4 separate regions of the Homo sapiens genome follow, and all the other regions are linked to region 3. The links are contacts of gene promoters, found by promoter capture Hi-C in blood cells and fetal thymus (Javierre and others, 2016). All regions are on one chromosome and are shown on one strand. The core of a region is centred on a gene start or on the middle of the fragment in contact, and the rest is flanking DNA. Distances in the headings are between cores, read along the strand shown. Region 1 has its middle 2.2 kb from the start of CMTM7. Region 2 overlaps CMTM7 (CKLF like MARVEL transmembrane domain containing 7). Region 3 holds the start of TGFBR2 (transforming growth factor beta receptor 2). Region 4 overlaps CMTM7 (CKLF like MARVEL transmembrane domain containing 7).

Region 1 (2,700 bases), core at 23-2,522, 1.8 Mb before region 3:
GGCTATAGTCACTATTATGGTACACGTTTTTTTGGTGGATACAAACTCTCATTTCTCTGGGACAAATATCTGCAAGTGAACGCACTGGTTACAAGGGGAGCATATGTTTGCTTCTGTTAGAAGCTGTCAGCCTGGGGAACATGGCCAGACCTCATTTCTACAAAAAACAAAAAATAAAAATAAATTAGCTGGGCCGGGCGCGGTGGCTCACGCCTGTAATTCCAGCACTTTGGGAGGCCGAGGCGGGCGGATCACGAGGTCAGGAGATCGAGACCATTCTGGCTAACACGGTGAAACCCCGTCTCTACTAAAAATACAAAAAATTAGCTGGGCGTGGTGGCGGGCGCCTGCAGTCACAGCTACTCGGGATGCTGAGAATGGCGTGAACCCGGGAGGCGGAGCTTGCAGTGAGCAGAGCTTGCGCCACTGCATTCGAGCCTGGGCGACAGAGCGAGACTCTGTCTCAAAATAAAAATAAAAATAAAAATAAATAAATAAATAAATTAGCTGGGTGCAGTGGCACATGCCTGTTCAGGAGGCTGAGTCTGGAGGAGCCTTGGAGCCCAGGAGGTTGAGGCTGCAGTGAGCCATGACAGTGGCATTGCACTCCAGCCTGGGCCACAGAGCAAGACCTTGTCTCAATTAAAAAAAAAAAAAAAGACAAGAAAAAGAAAAAGCTGTCAAACAGCTATCCAAGTGACATTCTATTCTGTATCCCTTTTGGGTTGTTTTAAAAATGAAGAGGCCAGGCGTGGTGGCTCACACCTATAATCCCAGCACTTTGGGAAGTCAAGGCATGAAGATCCCTGGAGGCCAGGAGTCCGAGATTGCAGTGAGCTATGATCTTGCCACCGCACTCTTGTCTGGGTGACAGAGTGAGACACTGTCTCTTAAAAAAAGAAAAAGAAAAAGAAAAGGAAAAAAACATAAAAATGAAGACAGGCCCAAACGGGACTACCAAAACGAGGTATGTTATCATGTTCCTTTTGAGCAGTGTCCCTGTGGCCATACTTACATTTATTCATTTGGAGATAACATCAAAAAATCTGGCTGGGCACGGTGGCTCATGTCTGTAATCCCAAAATCAAGCTCACAAGCCCAAGTTTGACACCAGCAAGGGCAACATGGAGAAACCCCATCTCTACAAAAAAATACAAAAATTAACTGGGCATGGTGGCACATGCCTGTAGTCCCAGCTACTCAGGAGGCTGAGGTGGGAGGATTGCTTGAGCCCGGGAGGTTGAAGCTGCAGTGAGTCATGATTACAACACTGTACTCCAGGCTGGGTGACAGAGCAAGACCCTGCCTCAAGAACAAAACAAAGCAAAGTGAAACATAAAACTATCTTTGTGAGTTTATTCCCTGCCAGTGCTGTCTTGTCATCAGAAGAGTTTTCGATGTGGCAAAGTCCTAATAATTCTTGTTGGTGGATGATACCCATGCAATATCTGTTTTGGCAAGTCTCTTAGGTGATTCTGATGCACACTCAAATTTGAGAACCACTGTCATTGCCAGAGTCCACTGCAGTTGAAACATTTGGGGATTTATTACACTATTTATTTCACCTTTATGTACATTTGACAATTTTCATGACCAAGAAAAATTGCCTTCCACGTGTGTCTTCTCTGTAGACAACAGTCACAGCTGCCTGGTACCTCCATTTGTTTCTCTGTAATTCAGGAATAATTGCATCTAGGGGCTGCTGTGACAATGTGATAGATATGCAGGTGTGCTGTGACATTTCTGGCTCTATACCCACAGGCATGAAGTTAGTACTGTGTATCATTTTTTTATGTAGATGTACATTTCACTTCTGTACTTGTCTAAGGCTTCAGGACCCACAGTGGAGATAACAGGGCATCTTTGTTGAGATGAGGGTTTCAGGGAAGCAGAAAAACCAAGTGCTGGATCATTTCTCCTTTGAGGGGCCTTTGTCCAATTCAGCAGTCTTCTAACAGTGATTTTCAGTGTATAGCCCCCCAACCAGCAGTACCTGCGAACTTGTGAGAAATGCAGATTCTAGGGGCCCACTCTGACCTGCTGAATCAGAAACTCTAGGGGTAGGGCTCAGCAGTGTGTGTCTTAACAAGTCTTCCCAACCCCACCCTCACTCCCCACCCCCCTTCACCATCATTCTGTGATTCTGATGCATACTCAAGTTTGAGAACAACTATCTCTTCCTGAGTCTGCTCAGAAACATTGCTGGGCTTTTCTGCCTGGTGTTGACTAATGCACCACCCACCTCTAATCAGAAGTAATCACTGTGCTGGGCACTCTGTGTTAATCACTTTATTATGATCACTTAAGAGCTTGAGCAAGATGCTTGCCAGTGCAAGGGCCATTGCTGGCCTGACTTACAAGAAGAGGCTTCAGAGGCTTGCCAAGTGCACTGAGATGTCTACACTAGTGTGTTGTCTGCTAGATGTGAATAGCTGCCCCTTGGGAAAGCAAGGTCTTAGGCAAAGGGCTTCATAGCCCACTTTAAAGATGTCACACTCTAAGAGGGAACCAACCAGGTAGGTGACCTCTGAATACCTGGTGAGAAATCAAGATGTCCAAGTTCTCCTTTTCTCTACACCGAGGGATTGCAGGTGGCTTATTGACAGTTTAAAGCTTCAATTCGAGTGGTACTCTGACTATAACTCTTCTTCACCAGTGTGTTTATGATGTTATATCTGATCAGATATAATGAAAAAAGTA
Region 2 (2,700 bases), core at 135-2,634, 1.8 Mb before region 3:
GTCACTGCAGTTACCCCAGGAGAAGCCAGCCCAGATCAGATGACAGCAGCCAACCCCCAGCCACAGAAGCAAGCCTAATTTATAATGAGCAGAGCCAATCCCCAGCTGACCTCAGTCATGTCAGCAATGAACTTTTATTGCTGTATGCCACTGAGGTTTTGTGCCTACAGTTATGATGGCTGGACTTATGATAGTTCAACTTATGATTTTTCAACTTTACAATGGTATGGAAGTGATATACATTCAGTAGAACATCAATAAATTACTTGGGTTATTCAACACTTTATTACCAAATAGGCTTTGTACTAAATGATTTTGCCAAACTGTAGGCTAATGTAAGTGTTCTGGGCATGTTTCAGGTGGGCCAGGCTAAGCTATAATGTTTGGTAGGTTGAGGGTATTAAATGCGTTTTTGACTTAACAGTACTTTCAACTTGCAATGGATTTCTCAGGAGTAACCTCACCATAAGTTGAGAAGTGTCTGTATTTGTTATCTAGCAAAAGCTAACTGATACATCTGTTTTCAGAATTTTCCTGGTTTCCCAGTCAGGCAACCCTAGCTTTTAAAAAGGAAAGGAGAATGAAGTTATTCATTCAAGGATTATCTACTGATGGCCAAATACACGTCCAGCTCTGTGCTTGGCATTAGGGCTACGAGACGGCACTGGTTGCCATTTTGCCAAAGATAATCCTAAGGAACCTTGACACAGAAGAAATAGTTCTGCTGCTGAGTACTTTTGCCACTATCCTGGGGAAATAAATATTTGGAGAAGCTGTGGGGCCAGTCCCAGCAGGAGGCCTGGCACCCAGCCCTGGGCCCGTGCCAGAAGTGAGTGCCTGTTGAGTTTCACAATGTGGGTGTAGGCCGCCTTGATTAAAACCCCAGGCAGCACAATGCCAAATAAGTGCCAGCCTGGGGAAGAAGAAATTAGTCTGGGATAAAAAACGACAAAACAAGAATAGAAAAGCCATTAAGGGATTTGTAAGCATGTGTCACGGATGAAAAATCACTATTGTTGAGAACGTGTGATCATCACGTTGTGCCCTGTGGGGCCTGGGGAAGGAAGTATGAGTGTTAGCCAAAGGCTTGCCTTCCATCAGAGGAAGGAAGGCCAAACAGGAGCAATAAAGCATGGCTAGCAACCCCCACAGGTCAGACAGTCACTCAACACAGACAGTAGGGGCTAGTTCACCCCGTTGGGCCTCAGTTTCCTCATCTTTGGCATGAGGGATAATAATCAAATATACTACAAAGAGTTAATGAGTTAATACAAGGATTAAATGAACTAATTCAGGCAAAATATTTAGAACAGCCTGGTACTGCTCCAGTAAATGCTCAACAAATGTTAGGTATTAAAACTTCTTTCAGAAGTTTCTTGGGAGGAACAAATAGGATAATGTTTGAGGTCTTGGCACAAAGTAGCACAAAAATGATGATTCCTCTAAGTGCAGTGTGTTGTCACCAGGAGATGAGCAAGATATGAGGACAGCTTAGACACGGACCCTGTCCTAAAGGGTAAGGAGCTTAAGATCCAGACACAAGTAACGACAACAAAACAGGGGATAAATACCACCAGAGAGCTACAATTTGTGAGGAATAGAGGAAGGAGAAGGTCAGGCATGTCCCGTATGAAGAGCAGACATGGCCCTGGTGTGGACTCCACAAAAGCATTCCAACACACAGAGAAGGGGAATCAGAGGCTTCTGGCAGTGGGAACACAGCCACAGAAGGCATAGGGGTGGGAAAGCACAAGAGTATATTTGGGAACAAGAGGGTTGTTGTCCATGTTAGGCAAACTGCACAGGTATGTGAAGAGGTGTGATGGGAAGCAAAGCTGGCGGGATGGGGTGGGGATCAGATTCCAGGCTGAGGAAGTAGATATGCTAGGTGGGCGATGGGGAGCCAGTGAAGGTTATTGAGCAGAGAAGAGCCACAGCAGAATTGTTCTTCAGGAAAATGAATCTAGTAGCAGGTGGACTGGAGATGGGAGAGAAAAGACACAGAAGTCAGTTTGTAGGAGGCTGTGTCAGTTCTAGCAAGGCAATGGGGACTGAAATCAGAATAGTGGCCAGAAGAAAAGGGAGAGGAGCTGGGTGGGAGAGGAGGGCAGCAGGTGGCAGGAATGTCCCAGGGAGCCTCCAGGGACCCAGGCTGCACGGTGAGGTGGGGAGCAGGGTCGCCTCCAGTGGGAGGGTCCAGACAGCCGGTGAGACCAACAAAAAAACTTCCCTGGCTGGCTTGGCTGCCTCAGATTGTTGACAACATGGTCAAGCGATTCCGTCTGTGCAAACTCTGCCATAAACTAAACCGCTGAGTCAAGCAAGCAGGCAGCAGGCCTTGCCACTTCTGCAGGCCATTAGCTGGCCCCCTCTCCTGCCCCCAGACCCAGTTCTGAGGAACAACTCCCCAGAGAGGGCCTCTCCCACCTGCTCTCTGGCCGCTGCATTTTTTAGGGAACAAAAAGCCAGCTGTGGTAAACCGCCCTTCAGTCAGGCAGACAGTGGGACTATGGCGTGGACACCTTGCCCCTTTCTTCCTCCTCCAGCCTTTTCAACCGTGTCCCCAGTTCAAAGGCATGATCATTGTGACCTGCAGGCCCAGGTACAGCTGAAGTCATTTCAGAAGGCTGGCGTAGAGTCAGCCCTCCCCTGCTGCCTGCATTCTCCTTTGCTTTCTCACTTTTGAGTCATCTGAGTGCC
Region 3 (2,700 bases), core at 46-2,545:
GAACCCCCATTCCTGCATGCATATATATATTAATATTATATATATTTATATATATAATTATATATATATTTATATATATATAATATATATATATATTTTTTTATTTTTATTTTTTCCTTAAAAACCTTCAGAGACAGCGATCAGGTGGGTAGCCTAGTTAGGATTTTAACCCTTCGGTTTCCAACAAACGATAATTGCATAGAACCATCAACTCCCTGAAGACAGGACTATCTTGTTCCAGGCAAAATCTACAGCCTCTAGCACCCAGTAGGCATTCAGTGAGGGATTCTCGGTTTCACCTGAGCATCTCCACTCCCTATCCATCCATGCCAAGGCGTCAGTGGAGCCAGCTAACTTTCTTTTGGAAATCGATTATTTTCTTGAAACTTGTTTCCAAAAACTCCGGGCCAAGAAGCCGGCCTGAGGGAAAGCGTGGCCGTCTCCAGGAGCTAAGGACTGAGGAGCTGGCCTTTTGAACGGGTGGCTCAGAAAGAGCTGGGTGGGCACGCGGCATCGCCATGGGCGGAGTGGCCCAGGTGCGCTGGCTGCTTTGGCAGCTCAGGCTGCCGCTCCGGGCCGCTGCTCCCCGGCCGCCTTCAGATAACCAACTTCTCAAACTTCCCTTTCCGGGGGTGGGGGCTCGCCTCGAACGCGGCCAACACAACGCCTTTCCTGCTCGCACAAAGGGGACCAAACGTGCCCCGCGCCCCTTGCAACTGAACTTTCCTTCTCTTTTTCAAGAAAAACTCACAATCCCTGCAGCTACGGGAGTCGGGCTGCGTGAGTGTCGCGGGGGAAACTTTCCTCGTTTCCGCCCGGGGGCCGGGTTGCCGGGCCCGACTGTCAAGCGCAGCGGAGAGGCGGGGACCCCAGGAAGACCCCCGGCGCCCCGCCGAGCCCGGGCTGGGGACCACTCACCCGACTTCTGAACGTGCGGTGGGATCGTGCTGGCGATACGCGTCCACAGGACGATGTGCAGCGGCCACAGGCCCCTGAGCAGCCCCCGACCCATGGCAGACCCCGCTGCTCGTCATAGACCGAGCCCCCAGCGCAGCGGACGGCGCCTTCCCGGACCCCTGGCTGCGCCTCCGCGCCGCGCCCTCTCCGGACCCCGCGCCGGGCCGGCAGCGCAGATGTGCGGGCCAGATGTGGCGCCCGCTCGCCAGCCAGGAGGGGGCCTGGAGGCCGGCGAGGCGCGGGGAGGCCCCCGGCGGCCGAGGGAAGCTGCACAGGAGTCCGGCTCCTGTCCCGAGCGGGTGCACGCGCGGGGGTGTCGTCGCTCCGTGCGCGCGAGTGACTCACTCAACTTCAACTCAGCGCTGCGGGGGAAACAGGAAACTCCTCGCCAACAGCTGGGCAGGACCTCTCTCCGCCCGAGAGCCTTCTCCCTCTCCTCGACGTCCAGCCCCTAGCTCTCTCGTAGCTGCCAATCATGTTTCCTAGACCAGCCCCTCCGAGAGCTTTGGCCGACTTTCAGCTGCCCCTCACCGCCCTCCCACACCACTCAGGAGTTCCTCGCTCCAAGTATTTACTCAAGAATGACTAAGTGCACACAGTTCACAAAGTAACAACAGAAAACGTCCACGTTTTCCCTAGTAGATCAGAACATCTGCCGCCTCCCCTCAGCTTTCTTCAGATTGCTCCTAGGTGCTTTAGAGATGCGTTTTCAAATTGCAAGTTGAGATCCAGGAGTGAATACTCCAATCTATTGAGTCGCGAGCACATTTCTTTCCCAAATAAAATAGTAACGGTAAATTCTACTTCATTAAATTTGTGCTTCAGTTGTGTCTATATGCATGTATGTATGTGCATACACTGTCAAGTTGTAAAATGTTTTTCTTTAGGTCGAAGTCTAGAGGTTTTTCTCAAGTTTTAATGTACATATTGATCACCTGGAAATCTTATTTAAAAATGCAGATTCTAATTCAGTAGGTCTAGGAGGCAGGCAGAGATTCTGCATTTCTAATGAGCACCTGGATAGAGCGTCCCATTTTGCACCGCCTCTTCCCGGGACTGAGTCAGTGAGTAATTGTAAATGATCACCTATCACGAAGTGATAGTGGTGGGAAATGTAATTTTCAGAATGTATAGAGTATAGCAGAAACTGTAAAATTAAAAGTGGGTTGGGAGTCACCTGAATGCTTGTGCTTTTATTCCCTTAATGCAGGTGAAGAAAGAGAATACTTACCCTCTCATGTGCAAACGGGGTAACATGGGAGCAGAACAGTATAAACTTTCAAATTTCCTTTCTTGCTAGGGCAACCAGATTTGCCCAAGACATTCCTGGTGTACATGTTTTGTAGTTTAAATATTAATAGAACCCCCTTTCTCTTTCAGATATGTCCTGATTGGATAATAAACTATGTGATCAACCTACTTCCCACTCTCAAAGATATGATTCTGTACAGCCCTCTGGTCAGTAGATCTTCTAGCAATTCATTTAATGAATTCCTTTACCTGAGAGGAAGATTGCAGAGGCAAGGGTTTGTGCCAGGGTCTCCAGGGAATAAAGGTAAATAGCCCTCCCCCAAACCCAACTCCCAAATCTTTCCTGTCATTCTAAGTGTTCATTTGCTTCATCCTGGAATTTTAACTCATGCTCCACCTAGCACCCAAGCTGCCTCTGGATGTTTTGCCACTTCCCAGTACTCATGTTGAAGATGCAGAAAGTGCAGTGAAATCAGGAGGGCTAGGCATCTT
Region 4 (2,700 bases), core at 67-2,566, 1.8 Mb before region 3:
GTCTACAATGAGAATTAAATCACAAAATGGGGCCTGGTGCATGCCTGGCATCCCAGGCTCACGCCTGCAATCCCAGCACTTTGGGAGGCCAAGGCGGGTGGATCACCTGAAGCCAGGAGTTTGAGACCAGCCTGGGCAACAAGCAAGACCCTGTCTCTACAAAAAATACAAAAACTAGCTGGGCGTGGTGGCATGCACCTGTGGTCTCAGCAACTTGGGAGGCTGAGGTGGGAGGATCAATTGAGCCTAGGAGGTTGAGGTTGCAGTGAGCTATTATCACGTCACTGCACTCCAGCCTGCAAGACAGAGTGAAAGTCTGTCTCTAAAAAAATAAAAATCAAATCAAATCACAAAATGGATCTTACTCCAGTTAAAACAGTTGATGCTGAAATGCTCTTATTTTCTAAAGCCCCTTGTTGCTAGCCCACTATCAAGATCCTCAGCAATAGGTACAACAGCTAAAAGAGAACTCTCAGCTGGAAGCTTGAAGCAGGTATGGAGAGTGCTCTGCTTACCAGATCGAAACAGAAGAGTGTGGCTGTGACACAAAGAGTCCCTCAACATTTGTGTATTTCCCTTTGCTAATGAGCAACGCAAGTGTTTTCATTTTTTCGGTTCCTCTGAAGCTAGCCAGCCATGGTGATATAATGATTCACACCTCTGCCTTACTCAGGAGTGTGCATGATCGCCAGGGCTTTGCTGCTACGTTAGTCTTACTTCCAGGCCACATCTACATGGGGAAGTCTAGGGGTCTTCCCAGCCCCACAATGACCTCCTCAAGAACTCAAGTATCATTATTCAAGGCATGACTGAAAATGCAGATAATGTGGGATTATGCAGCGTGATTCCTAGGTAGAGAGGCAATTTTGCATCTAGTTTAATGCAGAGATTAAAATAATTTTCCAACTCGTCGTTGAAGACAAAGTTAGCTCTTTTTCATGGTGACACAGGGATGTGGAAGTTTCCCAGCCAACAAAAGGGGCCTGTGCAGGTCAGGTCTTCCTGCTCTGAGCCTCCAGGGCTGAGTACTGTGTAGTAGGAAGTACATTCCTGCTCTATCAGAAACATCTCGAACCTTTCTGGGAAACTTGCTCATGAAATAACACTTTCTGAATTCGGTTCACTGGGCCTATGGCCATCTACCATATGACTTTCTTTAGGAAAGCCCAATTTTAGAAAATCTAATTTAGCCAGAGTATGGTGTGTGCTTATGCGTGCTCCTAAAAGCTTCCTTTTTGCCCAGGGATTCATTCATTCCAACTTTAAATAGCCAGCATCTTAGCCAGCATATTAAGTTAAAAAAAAAAAAAAGATTTGACTGACATCAAACTTTTCAGAAATTCTTCTAAAGCCAGTAGGTAACTTCTGCAAATGCTGGGGCCCCCTGAATTATTTAGAAGCTTAATTCCTGGGTGACAAAATAATCTGTACAACAACCCCCTCCCATGACACAAGTTTACCATATAAGAAACCTACACAAGTACCCCTGAACTTAATATACAAGTTAAAAAAGAAAGCAAAGGTGAAGTGGAAGAAAGAACAAGACAATAGTGGGGAAAAGGCGCTGGGGTGTTTATCCCTGCCCTCCTCCCGCCAGCTCCAACCCTCTCAGGTGTCTTCGTGTTCCCAGTTAGAAAAGCAAATGCACAAACACGCCTGAATTCAGAGAGGACTGGAGGTAGGGGTTCTGACTTCAGGACGGAGTGAAGCAGCTGGGAGGCTCCTGGAAGACAGATGTTTCTGTGTAGAGTAACTTCAAAGTGATGCTGTCCAAAGGGTTCACTTGCCTCTTAAGGTGCCTTCTAGCTCCTCTCGTAACGGTTTGTTCTTTTATATTGAACTGTCATAAAAATAAAATATCTAACATAAATGTCCAGGGGTTTATTTTATTTATTTTATTTTTTTGAGATGGAGTCTCACTCTGTCGCTAGGCAGGAGTGCAGTGGCAACATCTCAGCTCACTGCAACCTCCACCTCCCTGGTTCAAGGGATTCTCCTACCTCAGCCTCACAAGTAGCTGGGATTACATGTATGCGCCACCATGCCCAGCTAATTTTTGTATTTTTAGTAGAGACAGGGTTTCACCATGTTGGCCAGGAGAGTCTCGATCTCCTGACCTTGCGATCTGCATGCCTTGGCCTCCCAAAGTGTCGAGAGTACAGGCGTGAGCCACCGCGCCCGGCCTATTTTTTTCTTTTGAGACAGAGTCTCACTCTGTCACCCAGGCTGGAGTGCAGTGGCGCTATCCCCACTCACTGCAACCTCTGCCTTCTGGGTTCAAGCGATTCTCCTGCCTCAGCTTCCTGAGTAGCTGGGACTACAGGTGTGCACCACCACGGCCGGCTAATTTTTATATTTTTAGTAGAGACAGGGTTTCACCATATTGGTCAGGCTGGTCTCGAACTCCTGACCTCAAGTGATCCACCCGTCTCAGCCTCCCAAAGTGCTGGGATTACAGGTGTGAGCCACGGTGCCCAGCCATGTCCAGGGGTTTAAAAGTAACACTGCAAGAGCCCTCAACTCAAAGCAAGGGTCCCACAGACCAGCCATGATACCACAGAATCACTGGAATTAGAATTCCAGATAAGAAACATCACTCCCTGGAACCTGTGTCCTTTCTGACTCCATTCTGTCAGAATTCTTACTAGAAAGAAGACATGATTTTTTGGAAGGAGCAGAGGGTTTAAATTTCACAAGAGA

What was found. Contacts are between HindIII fragments. The CHiCAGO score rates a contact against its expected background, and 5 or more counts as called.
Region 1: a contact is called between a fragment that was not itself captured here and the fragment with the promoter of TGFBR2 in region 3, in 1 of 17 cell types (non-activated CD4 T cells). The highest score is 6.0, in non-activated CD4 T cells.
Region 2: a fragment that was not itself captured here is called in contact with the fragment with the promoter of TGFBR2 in region 3 in 1 of 17 cell types (non-activated CD4 T cells); the score reaches 7.7 in non-activated CD4 T cells.
Region 4: a contact is called between a fragment that was not itself captured here and the fragment with the promoter of TGFBR2 in region 3, in 1 of 17 cell types (total CD8 T cells). The highest score is 8.6, in total CD8 T cells.

The regions. Positions count from the first base shown.
Region 1 is chr3:32,388,339-32,391,038 of GRCh38, reverse strand. No RefSeq gene overlaps it. Among named protein-coding and RNA genes, the nearest start is that of CMTM7, 2.2 kb to the left of the region's middle. The HindIII fragment of the contact is 2,687 bases long and covers 1-2,615 here.
Region 2 is chr3:32,420,469-32,423,168 of GRCh38, reverse strand. All of the region lies in intron 1 of CMTM7 (CKLF like MARVEL transmembrane domain containing 7), which reads right to left. Among named protein-coding and RNA genes, the nearest start is that of CMTM7, 30 kb to the right of the region's middle. RefSeq lists an enhancer at 2,330-2,700. The HindIII fragment of the contact is 3,926 bases long and covers 1-2,700 here.
Region 3 is chr3:30,605,196-30,607,895 of GRCh38, reverse strand. TGFBR2 (transforming growth factor beta receptor 2) reads right to left here and starts at 1,295. Exons shown (of 7, transcript NM_003242.6): 1 at 919-1,295. The coding sequence starts at 1,012. It overlaps LOC105377015 (translation initiation factor IF-2-like), which reads left to right and starts at 972. Exons shown (of 2, transcript XM_047449400.1): 1 at 972-1,750; 2 at 2,338-2,700. The coding sequence starts at 972. The coding sequence ends at 1,412. RefSeq lists a silencer at 1,122-1,221. The HindIII fragment of the contact is 4,009 bases long and covers 1-2,700 here.
Region 4 is chr3:32,437,095-32,439,794 of GRCh38, reverse strand. All of the region lies in intron 1 of CMTM7 (CKLF like MARVEL transmembrane domain containing 7), which reads right to left. Among named protein-coding and RNA genes, the nearest start is that of CMTM7, 47 kb to the right of the region's middle. RefSeq lists an enhancer at 2,499-2,700. The HindIII fragment of the contact is 173 bases long and covers 1,230-1,402 here.